3 separate regions of the Homo sapiens genome follow, and regions 1 and 2 are each linked to region 3. The links are contacts of gene promoters, found by promoter capture Hi-C in human tissues and cell types (Jung and others, 2019). All regions are on one chromosome and are shown on one strand. The core of a region is centred on a gene start or on the middle of the fragment in contact, and the rest is flanking DNA. Distances in the headings are between cores, read along the strand shown. Region 1 overlaps NSD1 (nuclear receptor binding SET domain protein 1). Region 2 overlaps NSD1 (nuclear receptor binding SET domain protein 1). Region 3 holds the start of FGFR4 (fibroblast growth factor receptor 4).

Region 1 (4,307 bases), core at 1,808-4,307, 150 kb after region 3:
TAAATCACTTCTGATCCCAAGCGTTTCAGATAAGGCATACTTAGCCTGTAACTCAAGATGTATTTTACCTATTTACCTGATCTAGATGCTACATTTTTGTTAGGTATATATTAGCTTTATATGTACAGGTGTCAGTGACTATAAGACCTGGCTTTAAATTTAACCTTTTCCTTAATTTTGGATGGGCCACATATATTCTATTATTTGTGTATATAAGGTAACACAAGTCCTTTTGTCTCCCCCCAGCTCCTTTTGCATATGAGAAAACATAAGCCATTTTGTGCCTCTTGCATCTTAAGCCATAGTCTATTTTACTATGTGGTTTCCCATCTGGTTACTTTTGGGAGTATCAGATGGTCTCATAAAAACAGTGGGTTTTCCTGAAGCTTTTTGATTAATGTTGAATTTGTTTATCATCTTTTAGCTGTGCGGTCAGAGAAGAAACGCCTTAGGAAGCCAAGCAAGTGGCTTTTGGAATATACAGAAGAATATGATCAGATATTTGCTCCTAAGAAAAAACAAAAGAAGGTACAGGAGCAGGTGCACAAGGTATGTTGCAAAATTTCAGCAAACTTTCACTGGTCCTTAGGAAACTGCAATTTTATCTTCAATGTCATACTTTATCTTCATGAAACAATAATTTCCTTAACTGAGATCTTGTTTTTTATTCTCAGCTTCTAGCACAGTACTTAGGATTTAGTGGTTATTCAGGAAATATATAAATGAATCTACATATTGTATTTATTTATGTATATATTTTTCCCTCTTTGCCTTCAAAGAGTAATGACTTAGGAATATTGTTATGATTTAATCTTAAGTAAAAATATAGGCTATAAAGTGAAATATATATAGTCTGACCCTAATTTCAAAAGTAAATATATCTTATTTGTCTTATTTTTCAACTCAGTTTTTTAAAATGAAATAGAGACATCTTGACATTCTACCCCTACATAGTTTAATATGTAGTTAAAAAATGGAACATTTTCCTTTATAATCAATTTAACATATTTACATCTTATATAAGATCTGTTTATCTGACATCAACTGTCTTTCAAATTTCATCAATTATCCCCTAACCTTTACCTTTGGATTATTCATACCAGGACTCAATCTAGGACTGCTCATTGTAACTGGTTGTTATGGTTCTCAAATCACTTTGAATTCAGAACAATCCCTTTTTTCATGATCATGATCATGTCTATAAGAGAGTGACATATAAAGTCATCTACTTTCTGTATTTGTGTAATTGCTTCCTCATAGGTGTCACTTAGATTGTTTTCTCTATCTCCTGTTCTCTGTCAAATGGAAGATAGAACCTATCAGTTTGATAGATTGAAAGTTGAACATTTTTAGCTAGACTATATCAGAGATGATAATGTGGAATATATTGTACATTAGAGGGTTAAAAAATGTTTTATTCCCATCAGCCATTCCCTGACAGTTTGTTCTTTCTTTTTTAAAATTGAGACAGTGTCTTGCCCAAGCTGGAGTGCAGAGATGCACGAACACGGTTCACTGCAGCCTTGACCTCCTGGGTTTAAGCAATGTTTCCGTCTCAGCCTCCTGAGTAGTTGGGACCAAAGGTGCACACTACCACACCTGGCTAATTTTTGACAACATTTTTTTTGTAGAGGCGGTGTCCCACTATGTTGCCCTGGCTGGTCTCGAATTCCTGGGCTCCAGTGATCTTTCTGCCTCAGCCTCCCAGAGTGTTGGGATTACAGGTGTGGGCCACCATGCCCAGCTTCCCTGATGGTTTTTTGAAAACCCCAGTTGAAGATCTTTACCTATATCAATAATTTTATTAGAGGTTACAAAATGAAGACTTTCAGATTTTATTATTTTCTCTATTTTTATTAACTGATAGTCTCTTTCATTAATTGGACTCTGTTATTGTCCTGAAATACTTGAAAGGCAGAATAAGTGCTTCTTTCTTTCCCATTAATTACCAATTGTAACATTAAGGAGTTCATTAGTAGTTGTTTTAATTGGAGACATTAGAGCAGTCTCTTTCCCCTGCTTTTGAATTATTGTTGTGGACTTATCAATATTATAGCTTCAGTGTATCTCAGTCAACTTCATTTAATTTTGGTTAAAAAAATATATATATATAATGTAAATTTTATTATTTTATCTTTTTTTTTTTTTTTTTTTGAGATGGAGTCTCACTCTGTTGCCCAGGCTGGAGTGCAGTGGTGTGATCTCAGCTCACTGCAAGCTCTGCCTCTCCTGTTCACACCATTCTCCTGCCTCAGCCTCCCGAGTAGCTGGGACTACAGGTGCCCGCCACCACACCTGGCTAATTTTTTGCATTTTTAGGTAGAGACAGGGTTTCACCATGGTAGCCAGGATGGTCTTGATCTCCTGACCTCGTGATCTGCCTGCCTTGGCCTCCCAAAGTTCTGGAATTACAGGCGTGAGCCACCACGCCCAGCCTATTTTATCCATTTTTAAGTGTACAGTTCAGTAGCATGAAGCACAGTTAGATTGTTGTGCAACCATCTCCACCATCCATCTCGATAATTTTTTTCATCTTTCCAAATTAAAAATCAATACCCATTAACCAATAACTCCCTTTTCTGCTCAGCCCCTGGCAATTGCCATTCTATTTTCTGTCTCAAGAATTTTCTTATTCTAGATACCTCATATACTTGAAATCATACGATATTTGTTCTTTGTGTCTTAAGTAATTTCCCTTAGCATACATAATGTCTTCAAGGTTCATCCACTTTTTGTAGCCTTTGTCAGAATTTCATTCCTTTTAAAGTGTGTTATTCTTTTTGACACTTAAATTACAACAATTTTGGCCTGTGGACTCTATTTTTATTTTTTGTTCTTAGGTAAGTTCCCGCTGTGAAGAGGAAAGCCTTCTAGCCCGAGGTCGATCTAGTGCTCAGAACAAGCAGGTGGACGAGAATTCTTTGATTTCAACCAAAGAAGAGCCTCCAGTTCTTGAAAGGGAGGCTCCGTTTTTGGAGGGCCCCTTGGCTCAGTCAGAACTTGGAGGTGGACATGCTGAGTTGCCGCAGCTGACCTTGTCTGTGCCTGTGGCTCCGGAAGTCTCTCCACGGCCTGCCCTTGAGTCTGAGGAATTGCTAGTTAAAACGCCAGGTAAGGTGGGGTTGGGGTCTCAGTATTTGAGCAGATATGATTAGAGGAAGCAGGAGATTTTAGTATGTTTTGATGTAAAGCCAACATTGTATCTATATACAATAAACTACCCCCTTTTGTCCTGGGAAATACTTAAAATGATGGTTAATTAGATATAGTTACTAACCATGAACTGTGGCACACTATCAAGAAGATGTATTTTTAATAACTATGCTCCTTGCTCCAGTGTTGCTCTTCATGATTGTTGATCAGCCACTGTGTAAATTAACAACCAGGATAACAGGGCTTCAAGAGGAGTACTGCACATTAGTGGAATAAGCACTATGCTTCAAGTGCTGGCTCCACCAATCCTTGTGTTACTTGGGAAGTTGTTTAATCTCTGAACTTGTTTCCTCATCTATAAATGGAGATCATAATGTATTAATGTGTAATGTTATATACCTGACAACATAGTAATTACCAGTTCATTAGAAGTTAATTACCAGTTACTTCTCACTTGATCATTCTTTATATATCACCTGGGGAGAGTTGGATCTAAACATATTGTCTCTAATTCACCTTGTAACTATTGAATATTATAGTCAGTCAAGGAATGGCAAGAATCCTCTTTTCTGTACCCCTTTAAATTTTGGATATAACTTTTTTACATTATCAACAGTAGCTTTTGATGTTATTCCTTAAAGAAACGATTCCAATTGTGCTTAAACTAGTTGGGTATAATAAAAAAGATTTTTGAAAGAACAGTAAAGATAGTTATTATTTCAGTACCTACTATGTGCCAAAACTCTATTAAGTCAGCTCTTTTATATTATTCTTGAGTGATCCTATGAATTATCTTTTACCTATTGAATTTTATTTACTTAGGGGCAGAGCAGAAACTATAATCTTTGTCCATTTATGACCATGATCCAAGTTCTATTTCACTCCACTTCTCCTTATTTTATCCTCACCAACAATCAGTTGTTATAAAGGCAGTTCCGTCCTTCTGACTTCTCCCTTAGTGATTTTGTGAGTTAAAGTCACCACACACACATCCCTCACATTAGTTGGTGCTTGCATTGAAAACTGTTTACTTGTTTTGTTTACTAATATTTTATAATAAGCAAATTACCATCCTGCCTCTTCCCATAAGATGACGGGGAAAACATCAAAAACATTGAGATTCATTTTGTGTGGTATACAGATTTTTTAAAAAT
Region 2 (4,372 bases), core at 1,113-3,612, 200 kb after region 3:
GTTAGTTACCTCCCTCGTCTTGATCTCACATCTCCTAATAAGCCATATAGATTCTTGGTATATCTGTGTCTGTCCCTGTCTTTCTCTCACTTTCTCTTTCTGAAGATACCAAAAAATCTGCAGTTTAAGCTTCTAAATGTAGCATAACATCATAGATAAAAGTAGAACTCTTAATCTCACCATTATAAAAAAGTATAAGCATTGTTGTGTCTTCCTGTTTTTTTAGTATGCACTTTCTGAATAATTGAATTCTAATTCTGTAACTGTTAAGTATCATTTCCATGTCTATATTCTCCTTATTTTTTTTGTTGTTGTTGTTTTGTGTTTTTTTTTTTGAGGTGGAGTCTCGCTCTGTTGCCCAGGCTGGAGTGCAGTGGCGCAATCTCGGCTCACTGCAAGCTCCGTCTCCCGGGTTCACGCCATTCTCCTGCCTCAGCCTCCTGAGTAGCTGGAACTACAGGCGCCCGCCACCATGCCCGGCTAATTTTTTATATTTTTAGTAGAAACAGGGTTTCACTGTTGTTAGCCAGGTTGGTCTCGATCTCCTGACCTCGTGATCCGCCCGCCTTAGCCTCCCAAAGTGCTGGGATTACAGGCGTGAGCCACTGTGCCCGGCCCTTATATTATTATTTTTTAAAGTCCTTGCTGATCATTTTTAGTGACTGTCTTAATTTTTTTATATAATGGATGGACATACTAGATGAACATCTGGATAATTCAAGATTTCTGTATCATAAGTAACAGCACAGTGAAAATTGCAGTTTAATTTTGATACAAAATAAACTATATAGTGACTTCAATTGAGTATGTTCCATATGCCTTTTTGATTGTGAAGCTCAACATTAAGAACTGAAAAATGCAAATTAACATAGAAGCCAATAAGAAAAGAGTAAATAAATTTTTTTTTTTTTTTTTGAGACGGAGTCTCGCTCTGTTGCCCAGGCTGAAGTGCAATGGTATGATCTCGGCTCACTGTAACCTCCGTCTCCCAGGTTCAAGTGATTCTCCTGCCTCAGCCTCCCAGGTAGCTGGGATTACAGGCCCCTGCCACCACACCTGGCTAATTTTTTGTATTTTTAGTGGAGATGGGGTTTCCCCATGTTGGCCAGGCTGGTCTCAAACTCCTGACCTCAGGTGATCCACCTGCCTCAGCCTCCCAAAGTGCTGGGATTACAGGCGTGAGCCACTGCGCCTGGCCAGAAATGAAGAGCACTCAATGATCATTTTTTAATCTTGTTAAATAAGGAGAATCACCTCTATATTATACTGGATTTTATTGTGCTTTTTGTTTAGTTTTGTTGGTTTAACGGTGTTGTTCCTTAAGATGTTGACTTGTTTCCTATAAATTAAAATAGTAACTCAGTTTAACCTGTACTTAATGGTATTAAGTGTAGTGCGGATGTCAGTTTCAGCATCCTTGATGTCTGCATGGGATAGCATTTCACAGGAGTCAGTCAGAGGTAGATGCTAGAGAGGTCACTGTGTGCTCTTAGTAGATACTGGTCTGTCAGAATAGGGTGGACCTCCATTAAGCCTTACAGATTGGTCCTGGATGTTTCTGGGTTAAAATGAAGAATGTGATAAGATGATTTGGTGACCAAGTGTGGGCTGCAGGGAACAAAGAGAGAACATCTGCTGGCTGCTCCAGGGTCTGCCTTGGGAGTGGTGGACCTGAAGCTAATTTGACTTGATGTGTAGTCTTATTGACGGCAGGGACCATGAATTAACTTTTTTGTGTCTTAACACATTGCTTATAGTAAGTTCAGTTATGCTTTGTTGAATGAACGAGAAATAGGCATGTGTACCCACACACAGAAGTCTAGTTTAGTTCTGAAAGTAGACGAATATAAAAGTGAAACTTTGGCCAGGTGCGGTGGCTCACGCCTGTAATCCTAGCACTTTAGGAGGCCAAAGCGGGTGGGTCACAAGGTCAGGAGTTCGAGACCAGCTTAACCAATATGCTGAAAACCCGTCTCTACTAAAAATACAAAAATTAGCCAGGAGTGGTGGTGGGCGCCTGTAATCCCAGCTACTCAGGAGGCTGAGGCAGGAGAATTGCTTGAACCCAGCAGGCGGAGGTTGCAGTGAGCCGAGATCGCGCCACTGCACTCCAGCCTGGGCAACACAGCAAGACTCCGTCTTGAAAAATAAATAAATTAATTAACTAATAAAACTTATGAAAGGCATGTCATTTAACACCAGCCTTATGGATCAGCAAAAACACAAAGATTTTTGTCTTCTGTTTTGTTCAGGTGGCAGGAGTAGTTGATACAAAAATTATTGCTACGTATCTGTGATGTACCAGGTACCTTTCCTGCATTTTATCTTCATGACAATCTCTTTTCCCAGAGAAGAGAATGAGGCTCAGAGAGGGTAGTTAACCCGGTTAAGATTGGTACTAATGTGTTCACAGAATGCTGACTGTTCAATATCTGACCTGTAGAATCAACCCATTGCCACGGAAGAAAAGTCAAAGAAATTCAAGAAGAAGCAACAGGGAAAGCGCAGGACCCAGGGTGAAATCACAAAGGAGCGAGAAGATGAGTGTTTTAGTTGTGGGGATGCTGGCCAGCTCGTCTCCTGCAAGAAACCAGGCTGCCCAAAAGTTTACCACGCAGACTGTCTCAATCTGACCAAGCGACCAGCAGGTTGGTGCCAAAATCCATTTGTACCGCTACTCGTTCTCTCCATCATACTCAGGGTCTCATGCCATTTGCATCAGCCTTGAAGAAAGTGCCATTTGGTCTTTCCATGCATAATTTTGAGGGGTATGGTCTATTTTCTTATTTTGGAAATAATGAAAGCAAAGGCTTAGAATTCTTAGTTATGAAGAATGGGACAGCGGTGCACTTGCTGTGTTTCAGGTCCTTTACTTACAGTCATGTTTATTTCATTCCCCCAGCAGCCCATAATGGTTGGTTTTCTTCCATAATGCATGTGAAGAAACAGAGTGAGGATTGGGGAGGTGATCTTTCACACATAGATAGAGGAGCTGGATTGAGAGCTGGGTTTTTGACTCCAAGACTATTAAATCATGTTGCCTTTCTAGAGAAAGAAAGATTGAGATAGTAAAGCCTTTAGGTGGTTCTAGTCAGTGAGAGATGGATTGCCACCCTTTTAGCACTTCCTACCTTGCTCCCCTACGCCTAGTGCAGTCTCCCCCCATGCAGAGTAGACTTTTTTCCTCTAAAGGAGATTTGGTTGTATCAGTTAATACATGAGAAAGCTGCTCAGGTGGATGTGGTACCCAGGAAATTTGTAGTTGAAGAAATTGAGAACCTTTGAGTAGTGATTTGGGGTTAGAGAATTTTAGGGATTTGGATATGCCATCTATTTTAATGAACAAAAAAGAGAAACCAGTAGGGAGCCATTCCAGGGTGAGGAGATTATACATTACTAGTGACCTGCTTCCAAGAGTTGCAGAACGTTAAGAACTTTAGGGTATAAGTAAAAGGAATTTGTCCCCAAATTGGCTTTCCTTCACTGTATATTGGCCAGGGTCATGAAATAAAAGAAACTGAGGTAGGATGAGGGCAAGGCCATCACATTGACCTGTCAGCACCAGGAAGTAGAATTGTTTCAGAATCAACTGCTCAGGGTCGTCACTGGCGCAGGCTATGATAGAACCAATCTTGCCTGTGTGCCAGGAGTGGGAGCTGGTGTAGTTGATTTGAAGGTGGAAACACTGTCCCTGGTCAAGACCCTCAGGTTTCATGAAATGTGGGGAGGCAGGTAAAAGCTTAGGTCAGCTTTGGGTCTTTTCTACTGATTCCATGTGAACAACATATAACGTGCTGTGCTGATCTCAAGACTTAAAATAGAGCAAAGGTAAATCTTCCATTTTTCATGATTTTATATCTTTTCTATTACTGTTAATAGCAAATAAGCAGGAATCTAAATCACCAGGATATTTCTCTTTGAGTTGCTTATTTAAAAGCTGTATAGTACAAATGGAGATTGCAAAAATATAAAAGTAATATCTTAAGTTTCATGTAAAAGAAACTTTTTGTTGTCCCCACCCCCGCCCCCCCCTCACCTCCTTGCTGGAAATAGTCATAGAAATACCAATTTACTCTTCTGCTTGTATATTTAGTTGATAGTAGTTGCTATTTGATAATTCGCTGTTACTTTATGTATTCTGTGCACAAAAAGAAGCTGGAATTCTGGGGCAAGAGGTGGCTGGTGAGTGGCATAAGCTCTCTGAAGCAGGGACAGTGTGAAGGAAGGTCATCATCCACACCTTCGGACTGTAGCATAGCCTTGGCCCATGTGATATGTATCTCTTTTTTCCTAAACTTTTGATTTACTTCTGTGTTTTCAGGGAAATGGGAATGTCCGTGGCATCAGTGTGACATCTGCGGGAAGGAAGCAG
Region 3 (4,392 bases), core at 165-2,664:
AGGTGCCTTAAGAGAAGGAGAAGGCTTGAGATTCAGGTGAGGGATGGGCAGAGATCAGAGGCTGCCTGGCCTCCTGGTTTGGCCACAGTCTAGATGCTCAGGAGAGAAGTGCTTACAGGTGAGGCAAACATGAGCCAGGTGGGCACGGAGCTATCTGGGAGCACCTACTGTATGCCAGACACTTGAACTCTAATGGTGAGGTCTGAGGACACAGTTCCTCTACTGAAAAATAGAGACAGGGCAACTATGTTGCCAGGGCTGGCCTCACACTCCTGAATTCAAGCTGTCCTCCTACCTCAGTCTCCTAGTAACTAGAACTACAGGCACCCGTCATTGTGCCCGGCCATTCCACAGCTATTTACATAATTAACTGTTCAGTTACAATTCTGGCAAGCGTGCTGAAGAAATAACAGGTCCTAAATAATTACAGCTAGTATTACAAAGCAAGCGCTGCATGCCAGGCTTACACATACTGCTAACATGTCTACTTTTTGCAACAACCTCTTGTGGGTGAGACTATCATTTGCCTGTTTTACTGAAAGGACAGTGAAGACTGAGGCCTTGTGTGATGGTGCTGAGAGCTGGGCCTATGACGTCCAGCCCTGTAGTCTGTGCTCTGAACCACTTCACCCTGTTTCTTTCTCCATCCTCACAGTAGAGACGTCATCTAAGAGGAGCTTGCAAGTCCAGAGGGCTTCCTGAAGGAAGTGAGCTGAGAATAATATGAAATTAACCAGACCAAGGGCCATTCCAGGAAGAGAGAATGGTACGTGAAACTGCCCAGGAGTAGCAGGGTGGGAGCCAGGAGGCGTGGGTCATGGCAATCTATGTATAAAGAGCTATGGGAATCTATAGGAAAATTTAAGGGAGTGGCTGACACAGTCAGATTTGTGTTGTAAGTATCACTCCGCAGGTTGCGCAGGGAACAAATGAGGGAGCAGAAGGAAGGGGTTCTCCTATCCGCTGCACGGCACTGCGCAGAAGACAGGGGAGCCAGGCATTCCCTGAAGGGTGAAAAGCAAGGAGTAGAGCTGGGTAGTAGACTAGAATTTAGGAGCCTGGCCTGGGGCCTGGGTGGGGCGAAAGAGGCGGAGCCTGAATGGGGTGTGTATAGGGGGGTTGCGTGTAGGGGTGTGTGTATAGGCTGGGGCGGGGTCCCGGGAGTGGGCTGACTGGGTCGGGGGCGGGGCTCTCCAGGTGGGCGGGGATCTTGGCCACCCCTGGCCACACCTCTCTCCGGCTCGAGCTGGTCTAGGCGGGGCGGGCCCGAGGGGGTGTGGCAGGAGGTGGGCGGGCCCGGGTGGGGGGGGGGGGGGCGTGGAAGGAGGGGCGGGCCCGAGCAGGAGGGGGCGGGCCCGAGGGGCGGGGTGGGACAGGAGGTGGGCCGCTCGCGGCCACGCCGCCGTCGCGGGTACATTCCTCGCTCCCGGCCGAGGAGCGCTCGGGCTGTCTGCGGACCCTGCCGCGTGCAGGGGTCGCGGCCGGCTGGAGCTGGGAGTGAGGCGGCGGAGGAGCCAGGTGAGGAGGAGCCAGGTGAGCAGGACCCTGTGCTGGGCGCGGAGTCACGCAGGCTCGAGGTGAGCCGGAACCCTTGTGGGCCCGGGCTGCGCTCCCAGCCGCCAGGGGGCGAGAGGCGGCGGGGCTACGGGGACTGCCCCTCCCGGCGCAGGGGACCTGGGCGTCCGCCGGGCGGCAGGGGGTGGAGGGGGCGGTAAATCAGTAACCCGCAGTGCACACAGGGCCTTTTGTCCCGCTCCGTCCAAAGAGCACCCCGGCCGCGGAGCTGGTTACTCATTGCCCACCGAGGCGGGGGCAGGCTGGCCCTGTGCAGCTACCCTCGGGACCCATTGATTCGCACCTCCCCCCAGGCTGGCCCGGCAAGGGTGGGGGAGGACAAGCGCGCTTGTCCCTGCGGCTGTCTTCGCGCCGGCGGCAGAGATGAGGGACCTGAGGCCCCGAAAAGTTCAGTCACTTAGTGCCCGGGGGCCTCCAGCGCGAGTGCGGGAGGCTGAAGGAGAACCCAGGACTGTCTGATGCCTAAGGCAGGCCCTCCATTCCCACGTGGGGGGTGGTCGGTCAGCGGTCAGCAGCCATGGGTGACTCGACTAAGGACTCTGATATCAGGGCAGCCTGGGGTAGGAATAAACTCCCCGGGCCTCCCCACCCACTCCCAGCCCAAGCTGTGTACCCAAAGAGCTGCCCTCCCTGCCAAGCCGAGCTTGGTAGGGAGTTTTACCAAGGAGGATCCGACTGGATTCGAGAGTTGAGGTGGGCCAGAGACAGCAGTATCTGAGTCAGGTAGAGAAGAGCAATGAGGGGCACAGAGGGATGGGCAAGAGAGCACATGTGCCCAGTTTTGAAAGCCAATGGCTTCAGCGCTCCTGAAGGGGCAGACGGTGTGACCAAAGAGATAGGCAGCGGCAGAGAGGGAGCCCTAGGATGTTGAGCTGGATCCTGCTGGGCACAGGTAGCCATTAAGGGCTTGCAAGCTGGGGGGCATGACATGGCAGACTTGCAGGTTTTTTTGTTTGTTTTTTTATTTTATTTTATTTTTTTATTTTGTTTTTTTTGAGACGGAGTCTCACTCTGTCGCCCAGGCTGGAGTGCAGTGGCGCGATCTCGGCTCACTGCAAGCTCCGCCTCCCGGGTTCGCGCCATTCTCCTGCCTCAGCCTCCCGAGTAGCTGGGACTACAGGCGCCCGCCACCGCGCCCGGCTAATTTTTTGTATTTTTAGTAGAGACGGGGTTTCACCGTGTTAGCCAGGATGTTCTCGATCTCCTGACCTCGTGATCCGCCCACCTCGGCCTCCCAAAGTGCTGGGATTACAGGTGTGAACCATCGCGCCCAGCCGACTTGTAGTTTTTTAAAACTCTGCTGGAAGATGAAGGTTGAAGAGCCGAGGGAGAGGATGTTTCCAGAGGCCCATGCAAGAGATGGCCATGACCTGCCTTGAGAAGGGGCAGGGGAAGCCAGATGGACTGGAAGTGGAGTGGCAGTGACCAAGGAGGAGGAGGTGTGATAGGCTTCCCACGCAGGGTAGATCCAGAGACACCAGTGCCACCCATAGGCCCCTAGGACTGCAGTGGTCACCGATTCCTTTGTCCCAGCTGAGACTCAGTTCTGAGTGTTCTATTTTGGGGAACAGAGGCGTCCTTGGTAGCATTTGGAAGAGGATAGCCAGCTGGGGTGTGTGTACATCACAGCCTGACAGTAACAGCATCCGAACCAGAGGTGACTGGCTAAGGGCAGACCCAGGGCAACAGGTTAACCGTTCTAGGGCCGGGCACAGGGAGGAGAACATTCCAACACTCTGCGTGCCGACGCACGTTCTCTCTTTTATCCTCAAAACAGTCCTATGAGGATAGTAAGCCAGAGAGAGACAGAGACAAGGAATTACAAGTTGGTGAGAGTCAGGATTTGAACTTGGCTCTGGCAGATGGAAAATTAGGGTCTGTATTCTTTACAAAACCGTGTGTGCCTCAGATGGAGTTGGTGCATAACAAGCAGAGGTATCCAGGGTCGCGGTCCTGCTTGCCACGGAAGGGGCCGCCTTGTCAGTTGTGACCACCCAGCCCTGGAAATGTCAGTAATGCTGTAAGGAGTGGGGATCGGATCAGATGCCATCCAGATGCTGAAGTTTGACCTTGTGTCATTTTTCACTTTCTTTTTTGGCTCTTCTGCAATCAATTCATTTATTTAGCAAAAAAGAAATTATGTGTGCCGAGAGCATGCAGAAGATATGTCTCCGTTCTCTGCTTCCCTCCAAAAAAGAATCCCAAAACTGCTTTCTGTGAACGTGTGCCAGGGTCCCAGCAGGACTCAGGGAGAGCAGGAAGCCCAGCCCAGACCCCTTGCACAACCTACCGTGGGGAGGCCTTAGGCTCTGGCTACTACAGAGCTGGTTCCAGTCTGCACTGCCACAGCCTGGCCAGGGACTTGGACACATCTGCTGGCCACTTCCTGTCTCAGTTTCCTTATCTGCAAAATAAGGGAAAAGCCCCCACAAAGGTGCACGTGTAGCAGGAGCTCTTTTCCCTCCCTATTTTAGGAAGGCAGTTGGTGGGAAGTCCAGCTTGGGTCCCTGAGAGCTGTGAGAAGGAGATGCGGCTGCTGCTGGCCCTGTTGGGGGTCCTGCTGAGTGTGCCTGGGCCTCCAGTCTTGTCCCTGGAGGCCTCTGAGGAAGTGGAGCTTGGTATGGCTTCTGAGGTGGGAGAGGGTGGCAGGGGTGGGAAGAGTGGGCACCAGGAGGGGGCTGCTGGGCTGAGCAAAGCTGGAAAGGATCCTTGCCCAGGCCCTGAGAAGGTGGCGGCAGGGCAGGGCTCAACCACTGAGACTCAGTCAGTGCCTGGCTTCCAGCAAGCATTCATCTATCACTGTGTCTGCGAGAGAGG

Evidence for each region. The method cuts DNA at HindIII sites, captures the fragments that hold promoters and counts their contacts. A contact is called where the count stands out against the background at its distance.
Region 1: a fragment that was not itself captured here is called in contact with the fragment with the promoter of FGFR4 in region 3 in 1 of the 25 tissues and cell types used here (lymphoblastoid cells).
Region 2: a fragment that was not itself captured here is called in contact with the fragment with the promoter of FGFR4 in region 3 in 1 of the 25 tissues and cell types used here (dorsolateral prefrontal cortex).

What each region holds. Positions count from the first base shown.
Region 1 is chr5:177,235,397-177,239,703 of GRCh38, forward strand. NSD1 (nuclear receptor binding SET domain protein 1) reads left to right here. Exons shown (of 23, transcript NM_022455.5): 6 at 425-549; 7 at 2,841-3,111. Among named protein-coding and RNA genes, the nearest start is that of RAB24, 66 kb to the right of the region's middle. The HindIII fragment of the contact is 9,664 bases long and covers 1-4,307 here.
Region 2 is chr5:177,289,511-177,293,882 of GRCh38, forward strand. NSD1 (nuclear receptor binding SET domain protein 1) reads left to right here. Exons shown (of 23, transcript NM_022455.5): 22 at 2,444-2,648; 23 at 4,322-4,372. Among named protein-coding and RNA genes, the nearest start is that of RAB24, 12 kb to the right of the region's middle. The HindIII fragment of the contact is 5,839 bases long and covers 1-4,372 here.
Region 3 is chr5:177,085,501-177,089,892 of GRCh38, forward strand. It overlaps FGFR4 (fibroblast growth factor receptor 4), which reads left to right and starts at 1,415. Exons shown (of 18, transcript NM_213647.3): 1 at 1,415-1,577; 2 at 4,050-4,193. The coding sequence starts at 4,103. RefSeq lists silencers at 1,026-1,075, 1,326-1,785, a promoter at 1,296-1,515 and an enhancer at 1,481-1,931. The HindIII fragment of the contact is 26,682 bases long and covers 1-4,392 here.